Linked DNA regions of Homo sapiens: region 1 is linked to region 2. Evidence: promoter capture Hi-C in human tissues and cell types (Jung and others, 2019). All regions are on one chromosome and are shown on one strand. Each heading gives the region's core, a stretch centred on a gene start or on the middle of the fragment in contact. The rest is flanking DNA. Distances are from core to core; before and after follow the strand shown.

What was found. Contacts are between HindIII fragments. The study calls those that stand out against the background at their distance.
Region 1: a contact is called between a fragment that was not itself captured here and the fragment with the promoter of LRRC3B in region 2, in 2 of the 25 tissues and cell types used here (dorsolateral prefrontal cortex and thymus).

The regions. Positions count from the first base shown.
Region 1 is chr3:25,653,559-25,656,664 of GRCh38, forward strand. All of the region lies in intron 1 of TOP2B (DNA topoisomerase II beta), which reads right to left. Among named protein-coding and RNA genes, the nearest start is that of TOP2B, 9.8 kb to the right of the region's middle. The HindIII fragment of the contact is 5,215 bases long and covers 1-3,106 here.
Region 2 is chr3:26,620,906-26,624,048 of GRCh38, forward strand. It overlaps LRRC3B (leucine rich repeat containing 3B), which reads left to right and starts at 1,867. Exons shown (of 2, transcript NM_052953.4): 1 at 1,867-2,332. LRRC3B-AS1 (LRRC3B antisense RNA 1) reads right to left here and starts at 1,858. Exons shown (of 4, transcript NR_183726.1): 1 at 1,696-1,858; 2 at 28-67. RefSeq lists an enhancer at 1,201-1,716. The HindIII fragment of the contact is 7,905 bases long and covers 1-3,143 here.

The DNA.
Region 1 (3,106 bases), core at 481-2,980, 970 kb before region 2:
AGCTAGTACTACAACTGTGTGCCTCCACACCTGGCTAATTTTAAAATTTCTTCTAGAGACAAGGTTTTACCATATTGTCCAGGATGGTCTTAAACTCCTGGCCGCAAGCGATTCTCCTGCATTGGCCTCCCAAAGTGCTGGGATTACAGGCAGGAGCCACCATGCCTGACCCAACAGCACATTAAAAGGATTACACACAATAAGCAAATGGGATTTATACTTGAAATGCAAGGATGTTTCCAAATATGAAAACAAATCATTGTACTACACTATATTAACAAAATGAAGGGCAAAAAACACATTATCATCTCAATTGATGTGCAAAAAGCATTTGACAAAATTCAACACACTTTCCTGATAAAAACACATAACAAACTAGAAATAGAAAGAAAACACCTCAATATAATAAAAGCAATACACACAAAGCCAACAGCTAACAGCACATATACTGGTGAAAGACTAAAAACTTTTCCTCTAAGATCAGGAGGAACAAGGCAAGGATGCCCAATATTATCAATATTCAAGATAGTATTAGAAGTCCTAGTCAGAGCAATTAAGACAAGAAAAGGAAATAAAAGGCATAGAAATTGGAAAAGAAGTAGAATTATGCTCACAAATGGCATAATCTTATAGTAGATAACCCAAAAGATTCCACAGAAAAACTATTACAACTAATAAATGATTTCAGCAAGTTGCAGGATACAAAAATTGGTTATGTTTTCATGCAGTAACCATGACCAATCAAAAAAGGAAATTATGAAAACAATCCCATTTACTATAGCATCAAAAAGGATAAACTACCACAGAGTAAACTTAACCAAAGAGGTGAGAATAATGTCAAAATACAAAACATTGTTAAAAGAAATGAAAAAAAGATACCAATAAATGGAAGGGCATTCCATTCTCATGGATTTAAAAGCTTAAAATATTGTTAAAATGTCCAAACTATCCAAAGTGATCTACAGATTCAATGCCATTCCTACCAAAATCCCAATGGTATTTTTTGCAGAAATACAAAAAAAAATCTAAAATTCATATGGAATCTCAAGAGGACCCATAGAGCTAAATCAGTCTTTAATCAGAAGAATAAAGCTAAAGGCCTCACACCTCCTGATTTCAAAACCTGATTTTACTACAGAACAACAGAAATCTAAAACAGTGTGGCACTGGCATACAGACAGAAGAGAGAGCACAGAAATAAACCCTTACATAAAAGGCCAAATGATTTTTCACAAGAATGCCAAGACTACACAGTGGGGAAAGGACAGTCTCTTCAACAAATGGTGCTGGGAAAACTGGATAACAAGCAAAAGAATGAAGTTGGACTCTCATGCCACATACAAAAATTAACATAGATTAAAGACCTAAAAGTAATACCTAAAACTCTGAAACTCCTAGAAGGAAACATAAAGGAAAACCTTTGAGACACTGGATTTGGCAATGATTTCATGGATATGGCACCAAAATCACAGGCAACAAAAGCAAAAATAGACAAACAGGACACCAAACTTAAGAATTTCTGTGCACCAAAGAAAACAACTGACAGAGTGAAAAGGCAGCGTATGGAATGGAGAAAATATCTGTAAACCATCAAATGGTTAATATCCAAAATAGATAAGGAGCTTCTATAACTCGACAATAACAAAATAACCCCATTCAAATGGATAAAGGATTTCAATAGACAATTCTCCAAATAAGATATGCAAATGGTCAACAGCATATGAAAAGATAATCAACATTACTAATAAGAGAAATGAAAATCAAAACCACAATAAGATATCACCTCACACCTATTAAGACAGCCATCAGAAAATAACTGTTGGTAAGGATGTGGAGAAACTGGAACATTTCTACACTGTTGGTGAGAATATAAAATGCTAGAAAAATGCTACAGCCATTATGGAAATAGTGTGGAGGTTCCTCAAAAAATTAAAAATAGAATTACTATATGATCCAGCAATCCCACTTTTGGGTATATATCCAAAAGAATTCAAAGCAAAATCTCAAAGAGATATTTGCACACCCATGTTCATCACGGTATTATTCATAATAGCCAAAAGGCGAGGCAACCCAAATGTTCACTGGTGTATGAATGGATTTTTAAAATGCGTATATAGATACAATGGAGTATTATGCAGCCTCAAAAAACATGGAAATCTTGTCATGTGCTATAACATGGATGAACCTCAAGGATATTATGCTAAACAAAATAAGCCAGTCACAAAGGACAAATACTGTATGATTACAATCATATAAAGTATCCACAGTAATCAAAATCATAGAAACAGAAAGTAGAAAGGTGGTTAACCAAGGGCTGGGGGGAGAGGGAATTAGTGTTTAGTAGATATAGTTTCAGTTTGGGAAAATGAAATACTTCTAGAGATCTGTTGCTTAACAATGTAAATATATTTAACACTACCGAACTCTACACTTAATGGCTAAGACAGTAAATTTAATGTTGTATTTTTTTACAACAAAAAAAATTGAACATGTGAAATGTAGATGACTTTGTCTAATATTATTTGTAATTTTCTCTAGGAAGAACATAGAAATACTGTAAAATAAGTGTGATGAATGTGTGACAATACACTTTTTTCTAAATATCATATGACAACTATTGAGGAAAGAAAAAGATATACCATTCTATTTAAAGTCAGGAAAAGCCTTAAGGGATACACATTATTTATAGAATACAATGGAAGTCATTTGCAGATATTTCAAATCAACTGCCAATTATAATATCAAACAACTTATAAAACCTAGGGCATGGTGCCATAGGCCTGTCGTCCCAGCTACTCTGGAGTCTGAGACCGGAGGATCAATCCCCTGAGCCCAGGAATTTGAGACCAGCCTGGGTGATAGCAAGCCTCCATCACAAAAATAAATAAATAAATAAATAGATAAAAAACAAACAAAAATCCTTAATATAAACCCTTAAACTTGGACGTTTCAATGAGTAAATAAGTCTATAATTACTATACTAAAAATAATTGGTGTTAATCTTTTATTGCTCTAGTTTTTATAGAAAATTTATATTAGTAAAGATAATCAAGTATGTTTAAATTAGTAGTTTATCAAAATGGCACTGTTTAGTGGGCATTACAAA
Region 2 (3,143 bases), core at 617-3,116:
TCAGAAAAACGACACCAAATTACATACCTGCTATCCACATGTATCTATGTTTGTGTTCTAAAATCTCCTTTAAAAAACAAAAACAAAAATTAAAAAAAAAAAAAACTTTAAACCGCAATCTTTTAAATCACAGTATCATAACGTCTAAGAGACAGAAGATATCTTAAGAGTCATTTAGTCTAATCTCCTGCATTATGGACATACTTTTTCATGCAGCATTCCTGATCTGAGGTATCTATCGTGCAATTTGTAGAAGGTGGGACAGAAAACAAACAAACAAACAAACAAATCTTAAATATCCTTAAACTACAAAGCAATTTTCTTCACCTCTGAGCAATGTAACACTGTTCAAACTGTTCTAAAATGCATCCAGAATAAGAGTGCTTCAATAGAAATGAGGAAACTTTGGCAGGCTTTCAACATACTTGACACAGGTCAAGAAATAATCAAGATTTTTTGGTCATTCTCCACTTGGAATGGGTTTGCTCTAGGTGTTGGCAGCTGAACATACATGTCTTGCTCTAGGCAGTTGCTTAGCAGTTTGGTTTTCTTTTGCTTTTGGGAATTCAGGAAACAGAGGTGGGTGGTCAGTGGGAGAAGGTTGATTGTCTAGAGACCAAAATGAATTAAATACTTTATTACCTTTCCAGTAAAGGGGCTGTGAGTCTAACTGTATGTGTGGTTCCCTCCACCACACCCTAAATCAAAAGTTCCATCCCTGGAGTCTCTTTAATTCTAGAGACACTGAGATTTAGCTCATACAGAAGGAGAAAATGACCTTCAACTGGATAAGCTTTCCTTGAGTACCCATTAGATACAAAACACTGCTGGATGTTGCAGTGAGAACAAACAAACAAAAAGCACAGGGAATACTCATATGTGAGTGAAGAGATAAATCTATAAATATATAAGTTCCGCAAGTGATTGGCAAATAAAATTCTGAGAGGGCAAAGAGAGGGGAAAGATTTCTGCCTCGAGTCAGAGGACTGGGGTAGCGGAAAAAAGCTTTAGAAAAAAAGGTGGTATTTGTAGAGTCTGGAGAGGCGGGTTCCTCTGCCCCAAACTGGTGTCTACTGCAGATATGGTAAATAATTAAAATCATGAAATAAGAACATCACTAAAACCATTAATTTGACTTACTCTTAAAACACACGCGCGCACGCGAGCGCGCTCGCACACACACACACTGGCGTGCGCGCGCTTTTTTAAGGGGCCTATAGACTCCATTTCGGCTGCAGGTTAAAGTCATCCCAGGAAGGAGAAAGGAAAATTGAATTCCACCTTCTTCTGATTTAGAAAGCTAGATTGGTTGAGGATCGGGATCAGGGACCACAACTCAACCCCGAAACTTTGGGCTTCCAGAACTGCAGGGGAAACTGATTCTGAGATCAGACAACGGACCCTGGGGCGGGAGGGGGGTACCTTATTCATAACCCTCCCTCACAATAGCGGAGCACAGTACTCAGCACCCAGTAAACACTCATTTGTCGAATTGATTTTAAGCCTCCGCTTTTCCCCCAAGGAGGGCAATCAATCCCTTGCACGTTTTGCTCCTTTCACCAGCTTAATTCAGCTCTGATCTCAGTAGTTAGAAAAATAGGAGAAAGAATGGGGCCATAGCCTGCTGCAAGTAGAGCTGTGTAAGGGGGTGCGAGGAAGGCAGGCGAGAGCAGCAGAGGGAGTTAATACTCCTACCTCAGCTGGTCTCCGGCAGCCAACGCTCAGCCCCCGCCTCCTCTCTCCATTCCGGACCCCGCAACCGCGAGGCGAGAGAGCAGCGCCGGCGAGGCACTGGCTGGGCTCTGACTGTCACGTTAATTCCCTGCTGCTTTTTCTAGTCCCCAGCCGCCTCGCCCCTCCTCCCTCATTCCCAGCCTGGGTTTGGAGGCGATTTCCCTCTATTGACTGAGCCGACTGCATCTCTGGGCAAGCGGCGCTTTGCCTCTCTCCTGTCTTTGTCTGCTCTTCCTGCAAGGCTACGGCGCCTGGAGCAGGGTCTGCAGCGGCCGCCGCAGCAACGCGAGCCAAGTCGTGCCCCGCACGGCCGCCCGGGGCCGCACCCTCGCTCGGTGGCGGCGCCCGAAGACGCCAGCCGCGCCACGCACTGCCTGCGTCCCGCGCCCCAGCCGCCGCGCACCAACGCCGCCGCCTTCGCCGGGAGCCAAGCCCGCCGGGCCGGCCCGGTCCCAGGTGGGCAGCTCGGCTTGCAGCTGGTTGGAGGTGGCGGCCGCTGCAGCCCTGGCAGCGGGCACACCCCTAAGCATACGCACCCAACGCCTCCTCCCTGAGCCACGAGGATGGAGCAGCCACCCCGGCCCGGGACTGGCGCAAGGTAAGGTGCAGCCGCCTGTTGCTTTTCGCAGAGCGCGGGATCATCCCTCTGCCCGGGTACCTAGGCCGTCCCTCCAAGGAACAAGTAGAGGAGAACTATTACACCAGTTCTAAGCCGTGCCTGTCTAAGCCTCCCTGATCCCTTTTGCGCAGACCCTGGGAGAGACCTCCTCCTGGAGAGAGAGAGTCGACCCTCTTCGCTCCTGTTCAGCCGGCTGCTATACAATAGTCTGCAAACTTTTGTGACCCCTTCCCTGCGCGGTGCTCACCCCGTGCTGTGCAACTTGCAGGTTTAGTTCTTGCCCTTCCCCCAGCCCCTCTTGCCATATGCATCTGCCCATTTCTCTCTGTGTGTTCTTGCCAGTCGACTTTTCACTCCCCGCAGCTCTGGCTCCTGAGGCGAGGGTTTGGGACCCAGCAGTGCTCGTCCTGCCTCTAGGAGCTGGGTAGGGACAGAGAAGGTGAAATAAGAGAGGTGGGACATGGAGGATGGCTGCGGCCACCCCTGAAGCTTCGTCCAGCGCGATGGGAGTCAGTCCATCCTTGCACACGCCACCCCCAACTCGGCAATGAAACCTTTGGAGTGGCTTGCGGCTGTGCGCCGTGGGAACTGCAAGTGCAGATATGGGTGGGTGAAGTAAGTGGCTCAGGGAGGGAAAGGCTGCTCGTGCGGTGGAGGAGGAAGCTGAGGGTCGGGTAGATCTGCCCACGGTTGAGGGAAATGAAAAGGTACTGCTAATGTGGGCGAGCGGCCAGCCCTGAGAGGCCATCTGACGAAGAGGAAAAGGGATTTGAGTCCGGAGGGCGCTGGC